Regions from separate parts of the Homo sapiens genome. Here regions 2, 3, 4, 5, 6 and 7 are each linked to region 1. The links are contacts of gene promoters, found by promoter capture Hi-C in blood cells and fetal thymus (Javierre and others, 2016). All regions are on one chromosome and are shown on one strand. Each heading gives the region's core, a stretch centred on a gene start or on the middle of the fragment in contact. The rest is flanking DNA. Distances are from core to core; before and after follow the strand shown.

What was found. The method cuts DNA at HindIII sites, captures the fragments that hold promoters and counts their contacts. A CHiCAGO score of 5 or more calls a contact.
Region 2: a fragment that was not itself captured here is called in contact with the fragment with the promoter of G3BP1 in region 1 in 5 of 17 cell types (erythroblasts, total CD8 T cells, naive CD8 T cells and 2 more); the score reaches 10.7 in erythroblasts.
Region 3: a contact is called between a fragment that was not itself captured here and the fragment with the promoter of G3BP1 in region 1, in 1 of 17 cell types (fetal thymus). The highest score is 8.0, in fetal thymus.
Region 4: a contact is called between a fragment that was not itself captured here and the fragment with the promoter of G3BP1 in region 1, in 1 of 17 cell types (monocytes). The highest score is 6.1, in monocytes.
Region 5: a fragment that was not itself captured here is called in contact with the fragment with the promoter of G3BP1 in region 1 in 1 of 17 cell types (total CD8 T cells); the score reaches 5.1 in total CD8 T cells.
Region 6: a contact is called between a fragment that was not itself captured here and the fragment with the promoter of G3BP1 in region 1, in 1 of 17 cell types (fetal thymus). The highest score is 5.7, in fetal thymus.
Region 7: a fragment that was not itself captured here is called in contact with the fragment with the promoter of G3BP1 in region 1 in 1 of 17 cell types (monocytes); the score reaches 5.3 in monocytes.

What each region holds. Positions count from the first base shown.
Region 1 is chr5:151,770,627-151,774,350 of GRCh38, forward strand. It overlaps G3BP1 (G3BP stress granule assembly factor 1), which reads left to right and starts at 1,328. Exons shown (of 12, transcript NM_005754.3): 1 at 1,328-1,410. LOC100652758 (a long non-coding RNA gene) reads right to left here and starts at 1,550. Exons shown (of 2, transcript NR_132345.1): 1 at 1,077-1,550; 2 at 1-146. RefSeq lists enhancers at 1-136, 515-744, 1,002-1,296 and silencers at 1,505-1,834, 1,885-1,954. The HindIII fragment of the contact is 14,997 bases long and covers 1-3,233 here.
Region 2 is chr5:154,040,988-154,045,275 of GRCh38, forward strand. All of the region lies in intron 1 of MFAP3 (microfibril associated protein 3), which reads left to right. Among named protein-coding and RNA genes, the nearest start is that of MFAP3, 4.2 kb to the left of the region's middle. The HindIII fragment of the contact is 1,540 bases long and covers 634-2,173 here.
Region 3 is chr5:149,365,292-149,369,315 of GRCh38, forward strand. PCYOX1L (prenylcysteine oxidase 1 like) reads left to right here. Exons shown (of 6, transcript NM_024028.4): 4 at 651-862; 5 at 2,069-2,209; 6 at 2,702-4,024. The coding sequence ends at 3,363. Among named protein-coding and RNA genes, the nearest start is that of PCYOX1L, 9.3 kb to the left of the region's middle. RefSeq lists a silencer at 1,015-1,309 and enhancers at 1,563-2,427, 2,052-2,101, 2,192-2,271, 2,428-3,291. The HindIII fragment of the contact is 3,087 bases long and covers 1-2,932 here.
Region 4 is chr5:149,520,466-149,524,738 of GRCh38, forward strand. The region is part of intron 3 of CSNK1A1 (casein kinase 1 alpha 1); the gene reads right to left. Among named protein-coding and RNA genes, the nearest start is that of CSNK1A1, 29 kb to the right of the region's middle. RefSeq lists an enhancer at 3,007-3,176. The HindIII fragment of the contact is 1,772 bases long and covers 485-2,256 here.
Region 5 is chr5:154,447,575-154,451,833 of GRCh38, forward strand. It overlaps SAP30L (SAP30 like), which reads left to right. Exons shown (of 4, transcript NM_024632.6): 2 at 3,517-3,639. Among named protein-coding and RNA genes, the nearest start is that of SAP30L, 3.7 kb to the left of the region's middle. The HindIII fragment of the contact is 1,880 bases long and covers 1,926-3,805 here.
Region 6 is chr5:149,343,805-149,347,505 of GRCh38, forward strand. It overlaps GRPEL2 (GrpE like 2, mitochondrial), which reads left to right and starts at 1,695. Exons shown (of 4, transcript NM_152407.4): 1 at 1,695-1,812. The coding sequence starts at 1,736. RefSeq lists enhancers at 1,378-2,003, 2,004-2,627, 3,152-3,652. The HindIII fragment of the contact is 948 bases long and covers 1,927-2,874 here.
Region 7 is chr5:148,829,622-148,833,457 of GRCh38, forward strand. No RefSeq gene overlaps it. Among named protein-coding and RNA genes, the nearest start is that of ADRB2, 4.9 kb to the left of the region's middle. The HindIII fragment of the contact is 579 bases long and covers 1,883-2,461 here.

The DNA.
Region 1 (3,724 bases), core at 78-2,577:
AGGGAGGCGAGCGGGCCCGGCTCCCCAGAGGCCGAGGCCGGCGCCCGTGCTCCTTCAGCTCGGCCTCTCTCCCCCGACATAGGCGCTCCACATGCTTCATTTCCAAAATTCTCAGCAAAACTCCGCGGGAGACCCTGGTCACATGCCTGGAACGAGAACAAACCGGGGCGTGTCTGTGCCGGACGGCTGGGAACCAAAGCTATTTCCATAGAAATAGGGCCGGCCAGCCTTGAGTTGTAGCCCCGCCAGTGCCTGAAACGCCAGGAGGAGGGGACGAGTTGCCTTTTAAAGGCGTAGCGACGAGAATAAGCCCCCACCCGCGGCAATTCGAGGCTGAACAATAGTGGTGCAGCTCGGGACGTGGTGCGAGGGCCCACACTCCACTGGAGCACGCGCGGACCACCGTGCCTCAGCTGCCACAAAGGGAGCCTCGCCACACGCCCGCGGCCGCCTCGCAGCGCCCGCCAAGAAGCGCCTGGCGGAAGGGCGCACTCTCAGGCCTTCCACCGGCGACCTTCCGGCGGGAGCCTGCGGGCGGCGCAGGAACGACCCTCCTTCCTCTGCCCCGCAGCAGTGCTGAGTAATGGTGAGAGCAGCAAGGCCCTTGGCCGCCGCACGTAAGAAAAAAGTTGTAATAAAAAGAAAACAACCCGGGAAACTTTACTAGTTGGTTCGCCAGGTACAAACCTATGCGGAAAAGGCGGGGTACAGGCCTCGGAGGCCGGACCCAACCAGTCAGGGAAAGAAAGAGGGCAGAAGCCGCAGGCTGCACAGCCTCACAACCGCCCAGAGGGCACGGCGGCCCTGGGGCTCGGTCTCTTCCGAGCAGAGCAACCTCCGTGTCTATCAGCTCCTTCCGGCGTTGCGATTGGCCACAGGCTGTCTTGGCCTCTCGGACGCCCGCCTCCTAGTTGCTAGGGGTTTACTTCCCCAAAGTACACGGGCCCCACCTTGTGGCGCAACCGCTCCTGCATGGAAAACGGATCTCCGCCCAGGGGAAGACGTGTTAACGAATAAGAGCAGCCCCACACATTTATTGGCTACTTTGAGTATCAGTCAAAGAACTGCTCACTCGCCTTTCTATTGTACTTTTCGGTTATTGGTCTCTCTTAGTGCCGATCTGTTACTAGGGAAACGAGATCCTCACAGTCTCATAGGCAGGAGTCAAAGCCAATCAAGAGCCACGCCTTCATCCCCGAGTCAGTGCCCAATTACTGTTCGAAGAGCCCTGAGGACGCGGTCGGGATTGGTCATCCCGTCGCCCGACCTGGCCGCAACAAGTTAGGGTGAGTGGCAGTTATATAGACCGGCGGCGGAGCACGCGTGTGTGCGGACGCAGTTGCGTGAGGGGTTTGTACTATCCTCGGTGCTGTGGTGCAGAGCTAGTTCCTCTCCAGCTCAGCCGCGTAGGTACGCCGGGGTGTGGGCGGGGCAGGGAGGCCAGAGGACTAAGCCGAGCCGCAGCACTTGTGAGAGGGAGAAGTCTGAGTGGCGCTCGCGGCGGCCGCGCCAGTCGCGTCCCCCACCCCAACCCCCACCCCAACGGCCGCAGGCGCGCGCGGCGGACGGACGGGCGCGCGGCGGCTCCTCGCTCCCGCTCCCGTCCCGGCTGGGGCGCGTGGCCGTGTCCGCCGCGTGCGCGTGCTGCGTCCAACGGCCTCGCGGGGCAGGAGTAAGCCGCGGCCGCCGCCTGGGCCCCAGGGCGGTCTCTGGGGCCAGGGGTCCCGCGCCCAGCGTTTCCCGCCCGCCACCCTCTCCGCCACGCGCCCGCGGCACCTTTTCCTCCCCTGGCCAAGGGATCCAGTCGGTTCGGACCAGAAGGAGGCTTTCGTTTAGGGTGGGGGCAGCACTAAAGTCTGATTGGAGTCTTGCGGTCCGCGCGTCGCAGAAGCGCCTTCGGTTTTGCAGAGAGCAAAGAGGGAGCAGCGAGTGCACGGAGTGGTAGTAACAACCAATGTTCTTTCCACGCCCTCACTGTGTGTCCGGCACTGTGCGGAGCCACTTTTCTGCCTTTCATTTGATTCTTGCAGTGAGCTGGCGAGGTGGGTACGGCTATCCTCCTTCCTTAGCGGCCCAAGGCACGGGTTTGGAGAGCGGGGTCACAGGCACGCACGGGAAGGGCGGGGATTTGTTGACGCCGGGCCCTCTGACTCCGAGCTCCCCGCTTCCCAAGCCTGTTTTTAGTCTTTGCCCCCAGAGCACTTGTCCCTCGGGGCAGCATCAGCCTCAAAAGGCCACCTGCCGAGAAGGCTGCAGCGGCATTTGTACTTGGGCTAGTTCTGGGCTTCCAGGGAGACAAGGGTTGGAAGTGGGAATGTGACAAAGGAAAAGGGTTTGGGCTTCCTTTCTACGTGTACTTGTACAGGCCCTGGGTAGATGTGCCGCCACCGTAGCTTCTGGAAAAAAGTAGGGAAAACGATGAGTAAGTGCAAATGAACATGGACTGTGTTCCTCATCGGGTTTGAATCTCAGATTGCTGATGGGAAATTCCCGCCAGCGGGAAGTTAGGCTCCGGTTTTAGACGTTGAATTTTTTTTTCTCTACTTTTTTTTTAATTGGAGGAGACTTTTGCAGAAAGACCTTGAGAAGATTCACTTTATAGTTGAAGGGAATGAGGTGCAAAGCGACGAATTTAAGATCTCACTAGCATCTGTGGGTTAAAATACGGAATTGGAATAGAAAGGTTGGCGCCCAGTTACAGTATACTATTTGGACCTCTGTGGAGCGTGTCATGCTGGATGAATTACTGGTGTTGGAGATGTGTTGGAAAAAACAACTGTGACAGTCGAGATCTGTGGATGAAAGTTTGTGTACACTCCGTTTATTTAGCATTTACTCTGCTGGGTTCTTGTGTATATGCAGAAACAAGATGCTTTTCTTCAGGGACTGGAGCTTATATTTTTCTAGTAGTTACCATCTTTTAGATTATTTAAAAGCCAACATACTCCTTGGCTTAGTGAAATAAATCTTCTATGTTATAGAAACACTTCTATAAACATAAAGATTTCTATAATCGTGTTCTGGAAACCCTTTCTATAAACATGTTTCTATAACAGTATTATAATAATGTTCCAAGTAACATTTACTTGGAACTTTGCTGGTGTGGCGATTCCGGTTACTTGCCCTTACAGACTGGTTAACTATGGAATTAGCATTTTAACTTAGACTTAAAGTTGAGCAATTTAAGTTGTCAAATGGAAAAACACTAGAATGACCTACATTTAAACTGTTTAAGCTTGAGTCCAGCTAATTTTATTACTGCTTGAGGCAAAATAGAATGAAATTACCTTACACATTATTGAGGGAAAATTTCGTTAGTTTCTACTTAAAATATTAAAAAAATACAGTTCTTGGCCTCAGGCAAATGGTTATCACTTGGGCAGGAACATGAAAATTACGTGATTATTTCACAAACTGGTGCTCTAACTGATTACTTGTGCATTTATCAGGAACAAGTGAATTGAAGCAAATTGTGGTAATGTAAGGCTTGGCAAGGCTGCCCTACATCCCTACCAAGTCATACGTCAGTTTTGTTGGAGCTGCTTACCGGTACAAAAGTCTAAGCTTTTGTACCTCTTACAGGTAGAAAAGTAGACAGTTCTTTGTTTAACTCAGTTTGCTGTTCCTGAGCTGACACTGCACCAGGGGAACATTAGGAGATTTTGGTAATGTTTGTTTGTGACCTACTTAGAGCAGTTTTTCTTTTGTAACTTATGGTTTTTTT
Region 2 (4,288 bases), core at 154-2,653, 2.3 Mb after region 1:
CAGTGGCCCTGTGCTAAGGACAGAAGGTTTTTAGACTCTATCATTCATAAGCTTACAGTCTTTTGAACGGATAACTAACTGCTAAGAGGAAAACTGATAAGTCTTATAATGGCGTACTCTTAATGTGCTAGGGGACTGACAGAGCAAAAAAAAAAAAAACTCATCTGACAAGAGGGTGGGCATGAGAGGGTTTCCTGAATAAGATGAAATTAGAGTTGAATATTATAGAGAGGGTACAGTTTCCCCCAGAAAGATATTGACGGGAAGGGGCAGAAAGATTTTTAAGCAAAAGGAACAACTAGTAAGGTGAAAAGTTATTTAGAGAGAATAAAGTAAAACAAGCGTAGTTTAGGCTTTCAGCCATGGCAGGAAAGCTGGGTAGATTATAGGATTTAAGCAAAGAAACGAATGATAATGATAATCAGCCTCTAGGTGAGGAAACTAAAACCACTGGAGCACATCATAGCTAATTTGTGATAGAGGTAAAACTAAAGACCAGACTTAATGTTTAAATCCATTCATTCCTCCTGCAAGCAATTATCGTACATAGAGGCACCTCTGGGCTTCTCATGACTTTCTGTTCTGCTGCCTGAATCTATTCTTGGAGAATTACAATGCCAAATTGGAATTTTAAGCTTATCTCATGGGCAGTGAGAAATCACCAGTAGATTGTAAAATTACCCTGAATTGCTCAGATTTGTGTTTAGGACCAATTCTGAGTGTCACAGTGTTTGGATACATCATAGAGGTAAAAGGAGTTAAGGAGATCCATTCTGAAATTAAGGGGATAGTGTGGTATACCCAGGTGAGATAAAAGGATATGAGTTAGGACAGAGACAACAGGACTTAATTGAAAAATGTGTAGGAGGTGGAATAATAACAATAGCATATATTTATAATTTACCCACATTAGTTCATCTTATCCTCAAAACTACCCTATGATGCAGTTACTGTTAATATTATTTTATTTAATAAATGTGAAAACTAAGGCCTTGCAAGCCTATGGCTTCACCCAGGGGTAGGATCAGGCACCTTAACTCTAGAGCCCATTCTCCTAACCACTGAGCCATGATTGTCTTACAATTTTGATACTGCAAAACTGGAAGAATTGTCTGGCTATTATCTAAGCTGTTCATAAGCTGAACAAGTAGATCTGAGGGTAAGAGGAGTTCTGTTTTAACTAGACTGAGTTTCAAATAGAGATGTTTCAGACTATAGAGGGGGAAAAATGGCCTGGGAAGATCATAAATCTAAGCCTGTTTCATTGATGTTTTTGTCATTTGCATCCAGTAGCTATTCAGCAAATATACCTATGGCAAAAAGGATATAAGTTATGGGTATAACTGAAATAATCCTGGGTTTAAAGCAAAGCTCTGATAAATACAGACGATGTTTCTCCAGGTGCCAGAAGATATGTTGAAGTTTGAGCTCAGACTGACCAAATGCTAGTTATGGGGTATGTGATAGCTCCAAGGTAGTAATATAAAGGCTATTTTAATTAGAAACTTTTGAGTAAATGGCCCTCAGGATAGTGATTTCTGTTTGAATGTCACTAACCTTTTTTAGTTACAGATCCCTATAATAATGCTTGAGTCTAGGCAGAACAACTTTGTGTTTATTCTTTGCAAAGGGTAGGGTAGTGCTAACAACCTGCTCTTCATTTGCTTTTTCTCCCCTTTGCCGATTCAGAATGCTGCTTTGTCAATTTGTGTGCCTGCTGTAGGAACTGGTCCGTTTTCCAAGTGTGACAGTGCAGGCAGAGAAGGGTGGATGAGCTGTAAATGCAGCCTAGAACACATTTGATTATAGAGAATGAAGCACTAATATCCCAATATAATTGGAGTTTAAAAAAAAAAAATACCACCTGGGCATCAATGTGTTTCCCTGCTTTGCATTTTCCCAGAACTATTTCTGCAAACATCAGTTTCCTCAGCCAACTTAATATTGAGTCACCAGAACGGAAATCAGCCATATTACTTCCTTATTTGTGTTGAAAATTGGAACAGAATGGAAATATTTCTTCCCTCAGAAGTTGGCAGGAACGGCAACAAGACAATCTGTTAGGGGTGACAGCTATAGGCTCTTCTCTTTTTTAAAAATAATATAGTCAATATTCAACATGGTTTTCTGGGGTAAAATCATCCACATTTCTGATTCTTTATGATCCTAGCAAAGCTTACATTCTGTATACCTGAAAGATGAAAAAGGAGTTGGATTAAACTTGAGTCTTACACTTATCTATTACATTTTTATTTATTAATGCTGAAGAAAGGTAATATAGGCTGGGCGCGGTGGCTCACGCCTGTAATCCCAGCACTTTGGGAGGCCGAGGCAGCCAGATCACCTGAGGTTGGGAGTTCAAGATCAGCCTGTCCAACATGGAGAAACCCCGTCTCTACTAAAAATACAAAAAATTAGCCAGGCGTGGTGGTGCATGCCTGTAATCCCAGTTACTTGCGAGGCTGAGGTGGGAGAATCGCTTGAACCTGGGGGGTGGAGGTTGCAGTGAGCCGAGATCTCACCATTGCGCTCCAGCCTGGGCAACAAGAGCGAAACTCCGTCACACACACACACACACACAAAAAGGAAAGGTAATAAAAAATTTTATCAAGTAACTTCATCCACAAACATAGTATAGCCCTTTTTAACTGATAAGAAGAAGGTGACACTTTGGTTTTCCTTTTTGAAATCTGTTCTTGGGTTTCAAATGTCAGCTGCTACATTAAAAACAGCAGGCATAATATATATATATATATTTTTTTTTCCAAATACAAATGCACGTACTCTTGTGTCTCCCATGGCATCTAATATACCTGCCTTAATGACCTCAGCCCACTTAACTGATTTGGTGAACAATTCTGCATCTGAGGCTGTATATGTGAGGAAAAATTAAAGGATTGGAAATGAAAGTAAAATAACTATAGTATAAAGGATCATATGTTCAAAGCATGCAGGCCTAATATTATAGGAAGTCCCAAACATATAAGTGAATTGCATTCCTAGAACTGACACATTTGTCTTTTCTCTGTTGCATTCACAATATAATTACATTTCAGTCACATTGTCTTAGATACAGTTGGCTGTTTCTGGGCTGTCTTTCAAGCTGGTTTGTAAATTCCTGAGGGTCTAGGACAGTGTCCTAATTCTCCTTAGCAACTCTTGCACCACCTACTGTACTTCATCTTCCACGATGGATCCTTGACCTAGCTGAGCTGTAGTTTTAAAGTCATTAGTCTAGAATGAGCAGAATGGTCATAGTCAATGCAGTTTGTGCTGCAAGTAGCAGAAACCCATTCAAGCTGACTTAGCAAAAAGGAGACTTAGTGTGAGGAAATAATAGTACCCTGATACCAAGGATGATTTGTTCTTCCCTCACTATTTTTTTCTGCTTTGTCACCTTCTTGGACACGTATCTTTGCCAGTGTTTTCTCTCACAGCTGCTGAACAGCCTGTTACCTGCAAATGGGTTATATCCGTTAGTCTTTCAAATCAGAAGTCCTCTGTGTTCAGGATGTACATGGTATGAGTGAAGTGCCCAGTATTAACTGGATGTGTAAGGCTATTGTGCAGCCTCTTTCTCTTGTGGCTCAAAATCAGTGTGCCAGGTTTCTTCTGCCATGTTTGGCCTAAGAGCAGTTTAAGGGAGTTTATAGTGTTTTCCTAAATCCTGTCTGGTAGGTAGAGGCAAATGGCTATGTCTGTACAACACAAGAACCACAAATCTTGGCCACATGGGCAGTTTGCTTGCCACACTCCACTGTGTAAGGAAGAGACTAGAGATCTATGATGAAGATTGCCTGGCAGCCACAGACACAGTTCAATAACTTTTTGTGAACTTAATCTTTTTTCTCCTGCCTAACCATTTCCGCATTTATTACGTGTTTGCACATTCATCTTCACTTTTGTGGTTTTAATTTTGAGTAAAATTTAATAAAGTTGTTTCTTTTTTTAAAAAAAAAAAAGGGTCACAGGAGTGCCAGGAAGTAGAATTCTATCAGGCACCAAAGCACCATGTATGAGTCTCTCTTTGTCTTTCTCCTGCTCCTCTTCCTGTCTTCCCACTCTCTCCCTTCCCCATCCCTCTTGTCCTTTCTTACAGCTTCTCCTTGTATGTGGCCCAAACCTGACTGCCTCAGCCCCCACATGCCTCCTTTTCCTCAAATGACCCTGACCCACAAGGGTCTCAATTCCAAGTTCCAAGAACAAAGATTCTATTAGCTTACTTTGCCAATAGGTTGTCTTCCTCCTAGACCCAAGAAGATAGGGATAGGGCTCAAAGAGGGGAGCC
Region 3 (4,024 bases), core at 139-2,638, 2.4 Mb before region 1:
CCTCCATCTCGTGTCCTATTGATAACCAAACTCAACATGTTTACAAAAGAAGCCCTAGAATGGGCAACATTTCAAAGGCCAGCCAGTCAGGAAATCCATCGATGGTTCCAATCCATGCTAGTGAGATTGCATGAGTGATAGAGCGACAGGACATGAGCCTGGGGGTGAGTGGGAGCCCTGTCAGATGAAGCGAGAGGAGAGGACAGGCTGGACTGGCAGAGAAGGTGACAGTATCAGCATGAAGTTGCAGTGTGTCATCAGGTCCTAGAAGCTGTGGCAGAACCGACACTGTTGGAGAAGGAGATGTGTCAGCAGGGGTGGGCCGTAGCCCCAGCTGGGTGAAGAAAGGGTTATGAACTATGACCTCAGGCAGGGAGTGGCTCAGAGCAGTGATACAGTTGTTACTCAGCACAGCCGTGATGTGAAGCCAGGCCTAGAAGGATTCCATACCTTCACACTCCCTTTAGGTGGGACAGGCCCGCCACAGTCAGAGAACAGGTGCCAGGGAACATGACCAGCCTCTTCTGCCACCACTCCATGTAGAGGAAGTGATGGGTTCCTGGTGGGCCTCCCAGGCACTATAACCCAGGGGCAGGTGGTCAGGCAAAAAGCCTTCCTGCACAAGGACTCCAGCTCTATGTGTCTTCTAGGATCTATAAGTACCAGGCCCACGGCTATGCCTTCTCGGGTGTGGAGGAGCTGCTCTACTCACTGGGGGAGTCCACCTTTGTTAACATGACCCAGCACTCTGTGGCTGAGTCCCTGCTGCAGGTGGGCGTCACGCAGCGCTTTATTGATGATGTCGTTTCTGCTGTCCTGCGGGCCAGCTATGGCCAGTCAGCAGCGATGCCCGCCTTTGCAGGTAAGCGTCCAACCCTTGGCCTGCCCACCTGCCCCTCCTCCACCCAAGGTGCTCAGAATGGGCTGGGGGTCCCCATAATAACCTCACTTTTATCCAGCTCATTGCAGTCACATAGGCACTCTGCTGCCCCATCCTGCCTGATTCTGGGACTGGCCATGAGTTGGCAGGAGATAGTATCACCCCACTTCACAGACAGTGAAAGCAAGGCTCAGATCACAGGTCCAGTGTGTTTCTACCACTCCCAATTGCTTCATAATCCCTTGCATGTGTGTAAATGTTAGAGCTGAGATAATGCTCTGCTCTCTACACTTTGGTTTCAAGAACTGCCCTGTTGAGGCCTTTGAGCCACTGTGAGAGCACCTCCTCTTCCCAGCTCTTCACGGGAGTGGCTGGGCCTGTGTGTAGCTCACTGTCTGCTAGCACAGACCACAGGAGTGGAGAATGTAGGCTTCACAAGAGCAGGAATCCTTGTCTATTGTTCCCTGATACATTGCAAACACAGAACAGTGCCTAAGTCATACTAGGCACTGGGTATATTTTTGTTAAATAAATGAATGCAAAGGTTTACAATAACAAGCACCTCCCTCGTACCCTCGATACTGTTCATCTGGCTCTGCACATGCTGGCTCCTTCGCAGCCTTCAGGCCCTGCCTCAGTGTCCCCTCAGTGTTCCTTGCTCACTCTTTCAGTATCTTGTGTGTCTCCTTCATAGCATTTTTGTGTAGAGATATATAGAATTCACATACCATATAATTCGCCCATTTAAATTGCACAATTCAGTGGTTTTTAGCACATTCGGAGTTCTAAAACCATCACCACAATCAATTTTAGGACATTTTTATCACCCCAGAAAGAAACCCCCTTGCCCTTTAGCCCTCACCTCCCCAACACCCCCCGGCCTCCCAGCCCTGGGCAGCTACAGATCTGCTTTCTGTTTCTGTGGATTTGCCTAGTCTGGGCATTCTGCATAAATAGACCTCACAATATGTGGTCTCTGGGAGCTGGCTCTTTCGTTGAGCACAGTGTCTTCCCCCCATAGCATTGTGCACTTTGTTGTACTTACTTGTATGTTTGCCATCTCCCCATGCCCATGGTTGGGAGAGTTTTGCTCTGGCAGGGAGGCCCAGTCGAATAGTACTGGACTCCCCAGCCCTCCTGCCCCACGGCCCTGACAACCTATCAGCACCCACTTCCCGCTTTGCCCAGGAGCCATGTCACTAGCCGGGGCCCAAGGCAGCCTGTGGTCTGTGGAAGGAGGCAATAAGCTGGTTTGTTCCGGTTTGCTGAAGCTCACCAAGGCCAATGTGATCCATGCCACAGTGACCTCTGTGACCCTGCACAGCACAGGTGAGTAGACAGGGCGGGAGTGGGCAGGCATGCCATTCCCAGCCAGTGGACAGACACTTCTGCCTCCTTTGTACCTCAGCCCTGGTCTGTGATCCCCCTGGGGAGTATTTCCGAAAAAGCATTGAGAAGCCCCAACCCTGCCAGGTGACACTAGAGGGTGCTGTTTCCCCAATTCAGATGTCAGCCAGAAAGCTGAGACTTCCATCGACCCAGCCTTTTTCTGTTGACCGATGAGGACTTTGAATGACATCCTTGCCCACGCTCCCCCAACTGGCCAGCGGCGGAAGCAGAGCAGAAACTGAGTCTCCTGACTCCATGCCCCTTGCTTCTTCTGCAGCCGCATCAGCATGGAGAGGCCAGGACCCACCATTTAGACAGCCCTGCTGCACCCTGAGCACCAGGGTCTCGTTGTACCTCAATGCTGGACCCCAGTAGGGAGTTCAGTGGGTAGAAGCCAAGGGAAAGTTGACTTTTGTGCTCTTTTCTTTCCAGAGGGGAAAGCCCTGTACCAGGTGGCGTATGAGAATGAGGTAGGCAACAGCTCTGACTTCTATGACATCGTGGTCATCGCCACCCCCCTGCACCTGGACAACAGCAGCAGCAACTTAACCTTTGCAGGCTTCCACCCGCCCATTGATGACGTGCAGGGCTCTTTCCAGCCCACCGTCGTCTCCTTGGTCCACGGCTACCTCAACTCGTCCTACTTCGGTTTCCCAGACCCTAAGCTTTTCCCCTTTGCCAACATCCTTACCACAGATTTCCCCAGCTTCTTCTGCACTCTGGACAACATCTGCCCTGTCAACATCTCTGCCAGCTTCCGGCGAAAGCAGCCCCAGGAGGCAGCTGTTTGGCGAGTCCAGTCCCCCAAGCCCCTCTTTCGGACCCAGCTAAAGACCCTGTTCCGTTCCTATTACTCAGTGCAGACAGCTGAGTGGCAGGCCCATCCCCTCTATGGCTCCCGCCCCACGCTCCCGAGGTTTGCACTCCATGACCAGCTCTTCTACCTCAATGCCCTGGAGTGGGCGGCCAGCTCCGTGGAGGTGATGGCCGTGGCTGCCAAGAATGTGGCCTTGCTGGCTTACAACCGCTGGTACCAGGACCTAGACAAGATTGATCAAAAAGATTTGATGCACAAGGTCAAGACTGAACTGTGAGGGCTCTAGGGAGAGCCTGGGAACTTTCATCCCCCACTGAAGATGGATCATCCCACAGCAGCCCAGGACTGAATAAGCCATGCTCGCCCACCAGGCTTCTTTCTGACCCCTCATGTATCAAGCATCTCCAGGTGACCTACTGTCTGCCTATATTAAGGGTCCACACGGCGGCTGCTGCTTTTTTTTAAGGGGGAAAGTAAGAAAAGAGAAGGAAATCCAAGCCAGTATATTTGTTTTATTTATTTTTTTTAAGAAGAAAAAAGTTCATCTTCACAAGGTGCTTCAGACTTGGTTTCTTAGCTAGAAACCAGAAGACTACGGGAGGGAATATAAGGCAGAGAACTATGAGTCTTATTTTATTACTGTTTTTCACTACCTACTCCCACAATGGACAATCAATTGAGGCAACCTACAAGAAAACATTTACAACCAGATGGTTACAAATAAAGTAGAAGGGAAGATCAGAAAACCTAAGAAATGATCATAGCTCCTGGTTACTGTGGACTTGATGGATTTGAAGTACCTAGTTCAGAACTCCCTAGTCACCATCTCCAAGCCTGTCAACATCACTGCATATTGGAGGAGATGACTGTGGTAGGACCCAAGGAAGAGATGTGTGCCTGAATAGTCGTCACCATATCTCCAAGCTTCCTGGCAACCA
Region 4 (4,273 bases), core at 121-2,620, 2.3 Mb before region 1:
CTCAATTATTTAGAGTTCACAAAGACAGCGCTAAAGAAAATGAAATGGAAAGGACAACTAAGTTCTCCATTTATTTCTAGGTTAATGGATATCTAAGCATATACCTGCTGTGTCCTTTGGCTTTACCTTCTAGTATTAATAATTAAAACCATGGCAGGGTCTAACCCCATAGGAAGACTTGGTGTTTGTGATTTTCAAATAATAAAAGGAATACCTGTATAATAGTTTCAGTTGCTACAATAAAGGAAATAAAATAAAAACTTTCCACACTCAATCCTAGGCCTTCTAAAGTAACCTGTTAAAATGGCCTTGTATTACCCAGACCTAATTCCATGTTATAAGATATACATATGCACACAAACAGATACACATATACTTGGGAGTGGAGGATGTTGACAGATTGGCAGATTAAGCTATAAGTAGTTGTTATAATTCTTATATAATCTCATTCCAAAAGTTAAATATTAAACATGCCATTCTTAAAAGCTTTCCTTAATTTCTTGGAAATTATGCAAAGTCAAACGCTATAGCTCAAATATCCTTTTTAATGGCTACAAATATTCTGTGGTAGAGATGTTATGTCTTCCCCAACTCACAGTATTCTCACATTGTTTTCCACTTTTTCCTACTATAAATAATGCCATTAATAGACATGTATCTTTACCCACTAGTGCTTTTATTTCTATGGGCTTCAAATCCCATATAATTATGGGGAGTTGCTGAGTTGAAGGGTGTATTTTTCATTTTGATAGATAATATCACACTGCCTTCCACAATAGGCTGTAACAATTTGGATTTACTCTTCTTTTTTTTTTTTTTTTTTTGAGACAGGGTCTCACTGTCACCTAGGCTGAAGTGCAGTGAAGCAACCATAACTCACTGCTGCCTCAACCTTCCAGGCTCCAGTGATCCTCACACTTCACCCTCTGGAGTAGCTGAAACTATAAGGTGCATGCCACTACACCTGGCTAATTTTTTTGTGTCAGCTAATTTTTAATTTTTGGTAGAGACGGGATATCGTTATGTTGCCCAGCTGCTCTTGAACTCCTGGGTTCAGGAGATCCTCCTGCCTCGACCTCCCAATGTGGTAGGATTACAGGTGTGAACCACCATGCCCGGCCTCGATTTAGAAGTAATCCTTCCATGAGGATTTTTTTTTTTTTTTGAGACAGAGTCTCACTCACTCTGCTGCCCAGGCTGGAGTGCAGTGGTGCAATTTTGGCTCACTGCAACCTCTGCCTCCTGGGTTCAAGCGATTCTCTTGCCTCAGCCTCCCGAGTAGTTGGGATTACAGGCACCCGCCACATGCCTGGGTACTTTTTTTTATTTTTAGTAGAGACAGGGTTTCACCATGTTGGTTTCCAGCTCCTGGCCTAAAATGATCCACCTGCCTCGGCCTCCCAAAGAGCTGGGATTACAGGCGTGAGCCACTGCGCCTGGCCCTTCTATGAGGATTTACTCTTCTATGTACTGTCAAGCTCCACTCTTTGCCTATTTTTCTTTCGGCCTATTGTCTTCTTGTTAGCTTTTAGGAGTTCTCGTCATAAAACAAACAATCTTTTATCTGTCATTATGTAAACAAATTTAAATTATTTTTTATTTTGACTGCTTATGGCATTTCTTGTATACAATAGAAGTTCTGTGTTTTTTTGTTTTTTTTGAGACAGAGTCTCACTTTGTCACCCTGGCTGGGGTGCAGTGACGAGATCACGGCTCACAGCAGCTTCAACTTCCGGGGCTCAAGTGATCCTCTCAGCTCAGCCCCCTGAGAAGCTGGAACTACGGACATGCGCGTTACCATGCCCAGCTAATTTTTGTATTTTTTGTGGAAAGGGGGGTATCGTTATGTTGCCCAGGCTGCTCTCGAACTCCTGAGCTCAAGTGATCCTCCTGCTTCTGCCTCCCAAAGTGCTGGGATTGCTGGCATGAGCCATCACACCCAGCCTCTATCTTTTCTATAAGACACTTACTTAGAAGTTGTATTTTTAAATAGATTACATATCCAAAGACTGCCAACATTATCTTTCTGTCCATATGTTCTTGCTCTACCCAGTAGTATCTGTTAGGATTCTATTTTTTATTTGTCCCCATTTTCCCCAGAGCTTTTATTATCATGAATACACAGATTCTAAATTGTACTCTTCTACCTTGACAAATGTCTTCTGAAGCCAAACTAGTAATCTCTGGCTTGAACAACTTACACCTGTTACCTGTCAACCACAGAGCAAGACTTAGGTGTCAACTACCTTAAATGAAAGCTTTCTTGTATCTCCCTTCCTCAGAATTATATTTTTTCACATTTGTTACCCGTGTACCCAACAGAGACTTCTACAACTCTACAACAAGGATGGAACATCTTATTTTTCCATCTTTCTTTATTAGACTCTAAGTTTCTTTCTAGAGGGAAGAGACTAATTCTTATTTTTTTGCCACCCCAACCCCCAGCACTAAGTACAGTGGTAGGCTCTCAATACATGTTCAATGTATGGATGCTTACGTGTTACTGAACAAACAAAAACATAAGCCATAACTCTTTTATTAGGATTCACTCATATATGTTAGTTAAAACATATTAAAGGCTTTTTTTTTTTTTGAGACAGAGTCTCGTTCTATCCCCCAGGCTGGAGTGCAGTGGTGCGATCTCGGCTCACTGCAATCTCCACCTCCTGGGTTCATGTGATTCTCATGCCTCAGCCTCCCGGGTAGCTGGGATTACAGGTGTCAGCCACCACGCCTGGCTAATTTTTGTACTTTTAGTAGAGATGGGTTTCACTATGTTGGCCAGGCTGGTCTCGAACTCCTGACCTCAGGTGATTTACCGGCCTTGGCCTCTCAAAAGTGCTGGGACTGTAGGCATGAGCCACCAAACCCAGCCCACATTAAAGGCTGTTAACATAAAAGAGATGGGGTCTTTGCTCTATTGCTCAGGCTGGAGTGCAGTGGCATTATTATAGCTCACTGTAGCCTGGAACTCCTGGGCTCAAGAGATCCTCGTGTCTTGGTCTCCCAAAGTGCTGGATTACAGGCGTGAGCCAGTGTGCCGCGCCACTTTTAACCTTTTAATGCTTGAGTTTGTTTTGTGCCACAAATATCACAATTTGCTCACATTTGCTTGAGCCACTGAGTACTTTTAAGGTTAAGAAGCTTGGGGAGTATCAGGTGCTGATTACAGAAAATGGGCACTACTTTCTAATCCTTGGAATTATAGACAAAGTTTTTTCATTGATCTATAATAGTTGTATATATTTATGGGGTATGTGTGATATTTTGTTACATGTATACAATGTGTAATTATCAAATCAGGGTAGTTGGGATATCCATTACTTCAAACATTTATATTTTGTGTTAGGAACATTACAATTCTACTCTTCTAGCTATTTTGAAATAAACGATAAGCTATTGTTAACTATAATTTCCCTACTATACTATGTAATACTAGAACTTATTCCTCCTAACTGTATTTTTGTGCCCATTAACCTACTTCTCTTCATCCCTCTGAATTTACAAACTTACTAAAATTCCACCTCAAATACCATGTCTGTTTATCTCATTTTACTTTATGACATTTACTTGAAAGAAGCTCACAGTGATGCTTTGGGTAATACATAAATAATAGTATTAAAAGGTAAGTGATAAAGTAAATAAAGGTAAGTGATAAAACAAATAACCTGTGTTCTCCTTTCCCTTTTCCTCATTTTATTTTCTTCTGTTATTTTCCCTCTTCCTTTTTATGTGATAGGCAAATCTGGACTAGAGAGCTGTCACAAACCCTCCATTATATTTTTAAATGTCATTCTCTTCATAGTATTTTTATAAGCACACTGAGTTTAACTTAAAGCATTTCCAGCATTTTCCTGCCCTTAAAGGTAACAAATACTGATCAAAACAAAAAATTATACATGTCTTGATATTTACCAATCATTACCTTAATGTATTATCTTTTCCCTTAAGGTTTGTTCCTTACTCATCTTTCTCATTTCTTAAGATCGAAATATCCAAACTTTGGCTGTAAAAACCATTTAATCTAACCTACAGCCAATGCATCAATCTAATTCATGACATCACCAAAATTTCCTAGGTCTTAAGTAACACAAATGGTTGAGAATCCATTACTCCAAGCAGCATCTACTTGGTCAAAAAATTCTTCCTTATATTACTTCAGGACCTTTTTATCCTCAAAAATATAGCTTTTCTAAGAGTCCCACACATAATACATAATATTCAATTTTGCTTAATTTAACCAAAATGTCAATAAACATTTATCAACAATTAT
Region 5 (4,259 bases), core at 1,616-4,115, 2.7 Mb after region 1:
TTTGACATCTGTTGCTACAAGCCTTAAGTGATTGCTTCATGATTAGGAATTGGAAATGAGTTAAGGGGATATTTAATATTCAGGTAGACTAGCTAAGAGCTTAGGTGGTTAACATCCATTCTCTTCTAGAATCAGAATTTCTCCACAGTTGGAGGAAATCAGAGACTGCTTGTTAAACTGAAAGGGAGTGCACGTTTCCCCTCTGATTTTAGGGTTGAAACAGGCCCAGAGATAGGAAGTGAGGGTGTCAGGTACACACAGCACCTAAGAGGCTGGTTAATTTCTTAAAGATATTATCTAATTTACTTCCAAGCCCTATACATAAGTCTTCATTAAGTCTCTAATAAATAAAAAATCTCCCCTGTCCTTTTTCTTTTCTTTTTTTTTTCTTTTTCTTTTTTTTTTTTTTTTTTTTTTTTGAGACGGAGTCTCACTCTGTCACCCAGGCTGGAGTGCAGTGGCAAGATCTCGACTCACTGCAACCTCCGCCTCCCGGGTTGAAGCGATTCTCCTGCCTCAGCCTCCTGAATAGCTGGGATTACAGGCGTTTGCCGCCATGCCTGGCTGATTTTTGTATTTTTAATGGAGATAGGGTTTCGCCATGTTGGACAGGCTGGTCTTGAACTCCTGACCTCAAATGATCCACCCGCCTAGGCCTCCCAAAGTTCTGGGATTACAGGCGTGAGCCACTGCGCCCAGCCCCTGTCCTTTCTTCAGACTCTTCCCTCCTACCCCCATTTTTAAGTTAATCATTATAATACAGTTGCAGCTCTTGCATGGACAGGTGCTATTTTTAAGTGGTTGGGAGAGAGTTAATGGCTTTCTTACTACAAATCTCTATCAATGAATGCATGAATGGAAATATCTGAGAACAAACAAGGGTCTAGACACCAAGGTGATCCCTCCTTAGGTCACACGTTGAGGTGAAATGCTTATGGCAATGAATTCATCCACTTAGAAACACTGCCTACCTTCCGTGTAGGTTGTTAGAAGCTGCTTTACTTGAGCAGCTTATAATAATAATTTCCAGTCCTTAAAAGAATCTTCCAGTCCTTTTAGATCACTGGATGCCTTCCCATCTGAATGATTTTGCTGCTGCAACTGGGACTCCTTTTATTTACCCATTGACTGTACTGGAAAACCTGTGTTGAGCTATGCTGATCATTTCACACACACTGTCTAGAAGAAGGGCAGCCTGAGCCTAGCATTAGTGTTCCCAAAATGTAATACTTCTGAGGTAGTAAGGTTTCCAGGTGGAATCACTCAAAATTTGTTTTAAGGTGGTGTTGTGGAGTCATTATTTCTGAAAGGGATTCTATTTCTTTCTCACAGGCTTGGGCAGGAATTCAATTCCAGGTAACTGGTATGTTACAAGAATTTTTAGCTATTGCAGAAAGTGAAGGAAAAAAAAAAACTAGAGCCTTTGCTACCACCCTCCTGCCCCAACCCCACTCCCAAAGGCCACTGAGCTCTGAAATTTCTGAAAACCAGTATGTACTTGAAAATGGTTAAGGAGAAAATGATTATTTATCTTGTAAGAGAGTCTAGCAGAGAACCTTTTTAAATAACAACACCAGAAATTCAATTCAGGCTGTTTAACTCATTTTATATAGACTTTGGCAGTGTTCTGTGATCTGTTAAAATACTAATATACCTCCAGTTGACATATTTCTGCTTTTTTTTTCCTGGAGAAAAGTGGAAGTTGAGAATAGTATAAAGGAAAATGCTGGAGTAGGAAAAGACATGTACTGGGGGGGCAGAAGGCCTGGGTGACCTTGGCCAGGTCATTTCCTCACTCTGGATGGCTTCATTTTACCCATTTAGAAAACGGATTGGGGTCAATGGGATTGCACTAGTGATTGCTAAGTTCTCTTACAGCTAGGATTCCGTTATTCTATTGTCCTGATCTGAAATCTCCCAGCCAAAGCTTTAGGAAGCCACCTATTCTCCCTGTTCTCCTATGAAGTTTGTTACTGTGAACTTGAGGAGCAGTTGATCTGAGTGGACTCGCCAGTCTAGCTAACATGGAGGGCTAGCTTCCTCTCAGGGATGCAGAGTGTGCTTTGTTGTGCTTTCTTCCTGGAGAAAAGCATGTCCAGTAGTATATACATCAGCTAGGTGGGATTCTTTGGGACAGTGGCATGTGCTGTGTTTGAAAGTCCTTTGACAGAGTTGAATCTGACAAAGCTATCCCAGTTTGTAACCATGTTAAGTGGTGGCTTTCATTAGCCTTAAGCCACTTTTAGATATAGGAGACTTCCTATATTGGTACATCAACATTTTTCGAGTACCTCCTGTCTGCAAGACACCATCACAGTATAAACTTAAAAGTACTTATGACTCACTAATCCAGCCACATGAAAGTGATCATTCATCTGAATAAATAAATAAACAGTTTTCATTATTTTCTCCATGAAAAGGTCTGAATTAATTGATGCGGATTTCCTGCCAGCTTACTTTTATCTTTAAGGATTTAAGGAATAAACTCAAATTCAGAAGTCTCTGCAGAACATTTGTGCAACAGCTGTTTCAGTATCAACAACCCCAAGTCATTTGCTGGGCATTCAGTTTCTGTAAAGTTTTTCAGTGGTTCCTCCAGCCAGCCTTGGAGGATTCTTCATGTCTTAGCTGTTGCTGCCACCTTCACTTACCAGTGTGCCTCCAGCCTGTATTAGAAAATCTGTAGTATCCACCTTCTTGTATGTGGTTCTACCTTGTAAGAACTTCCACATCTTTTTCCACTTTTCTTTGTGGATCAGATGTGAGATAATGCAAGAATTATAAATTGACACATAGAAACAAAGTTTTTCAAAGAGTTATTATCCTACAATAGTAGCTATTGTAATTGTAAAAATAGAGTGTCCCAAATACCGTTGCAACAGTCCCTTGTGTCCTGCTTTCCTCCTCCCCAGGACAGTACATTCCAGTCGACTATAAGTTTATGACTCCTACAGGTCTTCTAAAAATGTCACATCACTTCCTGCTTCCTTGAGGGACTCTGTCTTGTCGGAAGGAAAGTCTAAGCTGTTCTCATGCCCACCCCCCTGATGCCTCACTTTTTCATTATGCTCCTACATGGGCAGCCATCATCACCCAACTGACACTGTACCCTGGGCCTCCTCACTCTTTCTGTCATCCTCCATTGGAAACTCTAAAGTCTTGGCACTCCTACCCATCTGGAATGCTTCCTGTCTGCCTAAAGTCCTCCCTTTTAGTCAGGGCCCTTCACCCTGAGCATCTCTGTTGCAGGGATCTCTTCCTTTGCTGAATCTGTACCATTTACTGTCTTCACCATTCACTGGAAGTTTGGTGTATGATACGCTGCCAAGTGTGATGTTAGCATTCTCTTTGTGTTCTGCAACTCAGTAGTGAGCTTCTGGGAATGATGGCCTACATCTTGTCTTCCATCTATCTCTCCAATGCCCTGCAATGGAAGGAAGCCCCGCAATTCGACAGATACCTATTGCTGTCTCCAAGGAATTGGCCAACTCTGACTTTGATTTTTGTCTCCATCAGGTAAGGCACCTATATATCTGTGATTTTCACAAAAATTTCATCCAGAGTGTCCGAAATAAAAGGAAGAGGAAGACAAGTGACGATGGCGGAGATTCTCCCGAGCACGACACTGACATTCCTGAGGTAAAGGTCAAAGAAACCAGTTGCGGAAGCTGGAAGAATGGATTCTAATCTGATTCTCACCTCTGGCCTGGTCTGCTTTTTGTGTTAAGAAGTAATTTTAGTCCTTTTGTTTTGCTGTGGATTATTTGAAAAGTGAATTATAGTAATATGGAATCTGAGAGCTAAAAGCTTGGACACCCACTGGTCAGACTGCCCCATCATTTTACAGACAGGCACAGAGAGCCGAGGTCATGTATATAGTTTGGAGGCTCTAGTCTAGGGCCCTTTCCAGTAGACCACACTGCTTTTCTGCAAGACGCCCCTGACGAATGCGTAAATACAACCACAGTGTCACTTTTTTTTAAACCTTGTTTATGCCTTTAGAGAGTGTATAATGGTTTGGGAGAAGTCTTTTCCCCAAAAAATGAAGGTGTAAGTCATCAGTTCATACCAGCTCTGATTTTCTCTCACTGATTTCTTGACATCTAGTCCAGGCTGTTCCCAAGGATCCATTTCAAAGTTGACTAAACTGGACCCGGTTTTCTCAACTCTAGCACTGTTGACATTTGGGGTCAGCTAATTTTTGTTGTGGGGACTGTCCTCTGCATTGTAGGATATTTAACAGCATGCCTCAGCAGCAT
Region 6 (3,701 bases), core at 1,151-3,650, 2.4 Mb before region 1:
CATGAAAGCCTTTGTCACATGTTCCCTGTCAATCTAAAATAATTTAAAAGGTCAGAATCTAGTTTAAAGAGAGTTTATTCAAGCACAAAGGTTGAGGATGGCCTGCCCAGGAAGCACAGAATGGAAAAATATGTCTGTCTTAAAAAAGATGGAAGTCAGTGTTCCAAAGTGTGAAAGGTTGGGTTCAGTGAGGTTTAACAGAATTTCAACATCTTTCTATGCAAGGCTTAATGCACAGTTACAATGATCTGAGTAGTTAAGGTGGTCTTTTTCCTTCAAGAAAGGTACATTTAACATCACATCCTGCAGATGTAACTGTCATGGGGTCAGTTCAGTTCAGGGCACCATCTAGTCTGAGTTAGGTGCAGGACAATAAAGGAGGCTGTCTATTACAAACATCAGTAATTGAGAGGGAAGAAATCTGGTCTCTGCTCTTTCCTAGTCATTACAGAACAAGAACAATGAGGAAGAGAATTAAGCTATAATTCTAAGAAGCAGAACTACAAAACATGCTACATGGACTCAGACCACAGCCACATCTCTCTCAAAGCTTCAAGTATTTGGGAGGTTCCAACAGCTTTTAGGTTTTATTTATTTTCACATTCCATTGCAATCAGAATCAGACTAAATTGCATTCAGCAAAAAAGTTTTTTGAAGCCGGGGGCGGTGGCTCATGCCTGTAATCCCAGCACTTTGGAAGGCTGAGGAAGGCAGATCACCTGAGGTCAGGAGTTCAAGCCCAGCCTAACCAACATGGTGAAACCCTGTCTCTACTAAAAATACAAAAATTAGCCGGGTGTAGTGGGCGCCTGTAATCCCAGCTACTGAGGAGGCTGAGGCAGGAGAATCACTTGAACCTGGGAGGCAGAGGTTGCAGTGAGCCGAGATCGTGCCACTGCACTCCAGCCTGGGTGACAGAGTGAGACTCCATCTCAAAAAAAATAATTTTGAACACCTACATTAGGGCACTGCTCAATGGGAATGAATAGACAATATCTCTGCCTTAAAAGAGCTTATATTTTAGTGAGAGGAAATGAGAAAATACACACTATTTAAAAAAACAATTCAGTCGATAAGAAGGGCATTAGAGAAAAAGACTGGGAGGAGTGATGGGCAATGGTTCAGGCTGCGATGTTTTAAACCGCTCACGTGATCTAGCCCTTCCTAACCACCAGTCCTGTTGCCCTCCCGCCTCAGTATATTTCAGTCCCTTACATGCAATACTCTTCTCTCTTTATTAGGCTTCTGCAGATGTTTCCCTCTGCCTGAACCCTTTCTTCAGCTCAGCTCAAATACCCCCTTCCTCTGGGAAAACTTTCCACAAGGCTAGATTTCTATTCTAGGCTTCCGCGACACCTGCCCCTCACCTTCAAACACCGCTCATATTCTGACTTTACATCCCGCTTGTATCTGTTTATCGCTCATAATATCAAGTAAGCTCCATGCGGGCACAGCTATGATCTGCTTTCTTTGCTGCCGACCCTGCGCCCAGCACGGAGACTGTAGTTACTACTAGGACCTCGCCTACCCGCGGAACACACTGAGAGCCGGAAGTGTTGCCTTAGCTCCGGACGACCGGATGGGGAACGGCGCGGCCCATCGGGCAACCGGAAGCATAGCGTTCCTGTCCGGAAGTCCTGAGAGGGAAACGCCCGCAAAGGCTGGTTTTTAAGCGGGAGCATCTCTTCACTCGCAGCAAGTGCGCGTGCGCTGCCTCTCAGCCCAAATTGGAAACATGGCCGTACGGTCGCTGTGGGCGGGCCGGCTGCGGGTGCAGCGCCTACTGGCCTGGAGTGCCGCGTGGGAGAGCAAGTAAGCATTGCAGGCGGGGAGTCGGGAGCGTGAGGACTCTGAGGGGCTAGCGAGCCAGCCGGGGTGGTTGTGGGCTGGAAGGCGAGAGCTATCTGAGCGTAGGCCAGGGGACCAAGCTTCTCGGCCTCTACGACCGTGCACTCACGGCCCCATTTTACAGACGGGGAAACTGAGGCCATCAGCCGTGCCTCTTTCTTAGGCCGAGGAAGGTAAGGAGATCCGAGGTCATGCATGGCCTGGAAGGTGAGAAGTCTCTTAAGCCCCCAAGGGAGGGATGTACCACTCTCCCGGCCTCTTCTCCCAGCCTGTGGTACCTGTGGGTAAATTTGGGTTCTCTCCCCTCACTCCGTGTGACCTAAGGCCAGTCCTTTCTCCGTTATCCGGGCACTGTTGTACCTGTCAGTAAAAGGAGGCCGCTGAACTTGTTTCTCCAAACGGCCATTGCATCAGCCTTCGGAAGACAAGTTCCATCGGCAGCTTTTATTGGTCGCTTACGAGGCCGACTGCAGAATTATGGGTGGTTCTTTTTATTATTACCCATTTAGTAGTTAAGGAAAGTGAGGTTTAGAAAAGTTGAGTAACTTCCAAACTTAAATATTTGGGAAGTGGTGGAACCCGGGCTGGAAACCAGTCAGGGCGTTGGAATCGGCGCTCTTATTTAATGAGCGATGTTAATTAATTTTCTCAGAGACTGTTGCCCCTACACTGTTTCTTCCTGGGATAGAGAATAAAAATAGTTGAGTACGAGGTAGGGTTGGACCTCTGAATAGTAAAGTAAGCTACGGGAGAATCTGGTAAATGTGCTTAACTACATATGTCACCCTTTTTACCTTAACACACCTGACCCAACATCCTACCCTAGCACCTAAGTGAGAGGTTGCATTCAGGGTTTCGGGACTTGGTTTTGCTTACCGTTCTCAAGTCTTTTTGGCAGCTTGTTGGTGATGTAAGGAAATGACCAGAAGAAAAATGGTTCCTTCTGGTAAGCTGTCTCCCTACTCCAGTTCTGAAGCAGTAGGAATTGAGATTGGCCACAACTCCCCAACCCTATTTCTTGGTCTAAGCTTTGGCCATTTTCCCTTTGAACTGGCCCTGAGAATTTTTTTTTTTTTTTTTTTTTTTTTTTTTTTTTTTTTTTTGAGACGGAGTCTCACTCTGTCGCCCAGGCTGGAGTGCAGTGGCACAATCTCGGCTCACTGCAAGCTCCGCCTCCCGGGTTCACGCCATTCTCCTGCCTCAGCCTCCCGAGTAGCTGGGACTACAGGCGCCCGCCACTACGCCCAGCTAATTTTTTGTATTTTTAGTAGAGACGGGGTTTCACCGTGGTCTCGATCTCCTGACCTCGTGATCCGCACGCCTCGGCCTCCCAAAGTGCTGGGATTACAGGCGTGAGCCACCGCGCCCGGCCCCTGAGAATATTTTGACCTGCTTTTTCAAGTGGATAAATGTGGTTTTTTTAGGGAGAAGATGTTTCACCGTGTGTAATTAGCCCCAGATCTACGGTGACCATATTTTCTGACCCCAAAATGTGGAACTGTCTATAAAATCACACACCGGATTATAATAATTGAATTTAAGATCAGCTTGGAAAGTAGGAGAGATAAAAGTCCTCTTGCTTACACCTTTAAACTAGCTATTTGCTCTGCCCAGGATGCTCTTCCCTTTTCTAAAGCTGACTCCTTTACCCTCTTTAAGCCTTTGCTCAGCTGTCTCCGTGAGGACCACTCTACAGTATATGCCAGTCCATAAAAATTGTTTTAAAGAACTCATGTACTCACAGATTGATTTTCAAGATAATTTTACTTACAGTCAAATTACGAAGATCCAGGAGTTGCAGTGGAAACTTCCTTGAACTGGGCCAGGTCAGGACTGCCACAGCCCAAGATTTG
Region 7 (3,836 bases), core at 922-3,421, 2.9 Mb before region 1:
TCTAAACTTGTTTTCTAGCTGCCCAAATAGTGATCATGAAATGTTAAGAAGGCTTTAAGTCTGTACATGAATTGTTTGAGAGGGTTTATCAATGGAGGTGAGGCCTGTGGGCCATGACTCCTGTTTGTGAAGAGATTATAATACTGTCAAGAGGCACGTTAGGGGAAATCACAAAAGTAAACACATTTCTTCTCCCAGCCCCTTTCTATTTTTGCCTGTGTGTCTGAGCCAGAGCTTGGCCCAGGTTTGATGAAGTGGATCGTCCTCCTTGGCAACGCCAGGCTAGAGCAGATCAGCCTGCAGGGTTCATTGCCATTCCACTGGCTCATGAAGCTGACTCCACTCCCCTCTTCCTTTCTGTTGCAGCCAAGGTCCCCAACCAGAAAAGCATTGGCCTTCTCTGCTTCCTGTCAACTCAATGATGGGATGTTTGGGTGAGCACCGAGCTATCAGGAGAAGGTTAGGCGCCTGTGATTTTGGAACATGCCATGGCAAATTGGAGAATGTGTGTCATTCAGTGCTTTTACTTTTTTCCAAGGGTTTTCATACCTATTGAAAACCCTTATTACACATTATCACCTTCTCTTTCTACTGCTATTATCACATTCTCTTTCTACTGCTCTGGTCTCCACACTCAGAGATTTGGGCAGCTTCTTTGGCTAATATTCATGCTCCCTGTAGCCTCATAAGATCTCAGACATGGAAGAGCCCATAGAAAGTATTTAACATCTGATGAGACTGAAACGCTGTGAGGTGAAGGGCTTGCCCAAGGTAAGCAGCCAAGGATGTCAGAGTGGGACTCAAGCCAGGGAACCCAACTGCTATTCCAGGAACTGCTGCATTCTCTCCACCACATTAGCATTGCGTTCTTTCCTCACCCTCAACTGGGGCTATAACATAACACATTCATTTCAGCCAATATATTTTTCTTTTGTCCTTAACACAAAATTTAGAGCATAAACAAATAATCTGCAATAGAGACAAAAGAAATAATTGTTCATTTAACTCAACAAGCATCCACTAGGATATCTTCTGCATTTAGGGAAGCTGGGAGATTCCTTAGCTCTTTATAACCAGATGTCGGTGTTGTATATATACTCTTTTGCCTAAAGGAATGTCTAATGTAATTTCTGTTAAAATTCAGGTATTAATGTTAATTCAGATTCCCAGCTAAAAGGAGAGTTTAACCATATTCACGTTCCTTTAGGAATACTGTAGACACAAGAACCTTGATTAGTTTTAAGGGTCCTGATAAGCAAGAGCATTCTAGGCATATCTTAATCCTTTGCTTTCTACCTCTTTGGTGTGTTGCTTTGTTTCTTTTGAGGGGTTGGCTTTTGTCAGTGTCCCTTCGTCTCTCTGTTTGCTGACATGCTGGCCACCTAAGGTTTGTGTTGTATTCCTCATCGTGAGTTTTTTTTTTGCCTGGACAGCAAGTTCTCAGAGTCTGTCAAATAAGAAGAACTTTTTTCTAAGATGCAAGCTGAGAGGTGTGAACAGTGGCAGGACAGGGTGAGCCTCCCCACTGCAATAATTAATGGGATAAGGAATCTGGAGAAAGGGGAGCTTGAGAATAGGAACTGTCTTTACATGATTCTTAGAATGTTTCTTATGGTGAACCTATTGCCAAATGGAGCCTAAACCAGAATCAGTCAGAAAGTATTTATGGAGCACCTACTGTATGCAGCATGAGAAAAGTATAGGTTTCCATTTCTGCCTTTTGGATCATGATATTAAGGATACTAAGCAGATACCTTTTATGGAATCTTACTAAAAGTTAGTGACTATGTTAGACACCTGTTAGGCGTTATGTCCTCACAACTGTATGATGTAGGTAGCATAATTGTCCTCATCTAACAAATGAGGGAGCTGAGGCTCAGAAAGCTTCAGTAACTTTCCAAAGCCATACAACCAACTAGTTGCAGAGTCAGGACGAGAACCCAGGTCTCTGTGATTCCAGGATCCATGGAGCCTAGCACCCAGGCAAACCAGGAAGCAGCACGAGGTAGCTTAGAATCTGTGCCAGAACAAGTGTAAGAACTGGAAATGCAATACTTTGTTGAGAGAAGACGGAGACTGCTGTGGGTTGAGGCAGGGAGGAATGTTCCCTTCCAAGCATGTGACTGCAGGGTTTCTGGGGACTGACACAAAAAACCAATCACTGAAGTGCCTAGTTTGCTTCTCCAAGTCTTTGTTTTGTCTTCTCATCAGAGAATCAGACCAAAATGGAAAGAGGATATGAAACTCTAAAACGAACACAGCAGAGTAAAGCAGAAACACAGGCTGCCCTACGTCCTGGCACTCTTTCTCAGCTCCAAAGTTGGGAAGGCCTCCTAAATTGAGTGGGTAGCCAGACCTTATGGAAATTTGATAGGCCTGGGTAGCCATATAGGTATGTTTTCCATCTTGAGCTAGCATTCTAGATCAAAGGAGATGATTTTCTGACAGCAGAGAGCAAGGAAGCTTAATATGCTTTGAATGATACTTTCCATTGACAGTATAACCTCTACTAAATTCAGTCTGTGCTAATCCATACTTCACTGACAGTGCAAATATAATTTGAAGGAGGGATTTTTCTAAATGCGTAAGAGAACAAACTTCCTAAGCACTTTCAAGAACTTGAGAAATTCTGGTGTTTTGTGAATAATAGGAGGCAGGGTGAGGTGAAAAGAGCCCCCCTCCAACCTCCCACCCACCACCCCACTCTCTCTCTCTCTGAAGTTGGGTGAGGCGGTTTTCTTCAGCCGACTTCCGTTTACTCATCTGTAATTTGAGGCCAGTACAGGTGGTATCTAAGCTCTGCTCCCCTCTGAATTTATACAGTTGTTAATTTACAGGCTAGAGATAATCATTTATATTTCTAATTAGAGTTGATGACATTTGCCATATAAACAATGGTTGAATATTCTGAAGGTTGTCAGCCTGCAGAAGAGAATGCTGTGAAGTACTATTTGGTGCATGATAATTGCTTTTCAGTATGATCTAGGGGGGAAAAAAACAGATTTCTCGGTTCTGCATGAATACAAGAAGGCAAGCAGAACTTTACAGAAAGGCAGATTCTAGCTCGGGTATAGGAAGACTTTCCAAAGAGCGAAATAAATGATCTATCAGAATTGTGAACCTCCCGTTTTTGGAAGCATTCAAGAGAAGCCCAGATGAAGCTGAAGCTCTGTTCAGGATGAAGCACAAGGCCTGCACTGAGCAGGAGGCTGGGCTAGGCTCTTTCCAAATCTGTGATCCTATGTCCTTGAAAACAGCAGACCTGAATGTTCTTAAAGTGTATTCAAACTGTTCCCTAATTCCAGCTGGCCTTCTCCCCAATTCCTCTGGATTTCAGAGGTTTCACTGCATTCCTAAATGGGAAACCTCCGGGGGAAATCAGTATCTCAACAACCTTTGGCCATGGGGAGAAATCCAGAAATAGAGCAATAAGGTTAAGCAGTTTTCCAAACTATTAGACCTTTTCATCAGCTGCTCTTCCCATGCCTTTTGCAAATGACCTACTAACTCCCAGAGCGAGAATAATGAGAGCTGCAAAGTCCTCTCTGCAAAGACTATTACATCCTTCTCCACCCTCGGAATCATTGCACTTCCTCTGGTCTTTTTGTCACCCCTACAGGGCAGGAAGGAATAGAGGCAGGTCCCTGGCTAGCACTGGAACACTTCAAAGCTTCTAGCCCCAAAGCCTGGAGACCTGGGGTCTGTCATAGCCCAGCCACTAAGAGTCTGGGTAACCTCAGGCAGGCCACTTCCCTTCTCTAGACCCATTTCATCACCTCTAAAGAGAGATGCTTTGGTTTATATGGGTCCTCTGTTTCCTTCTTTCTCTAAAATTC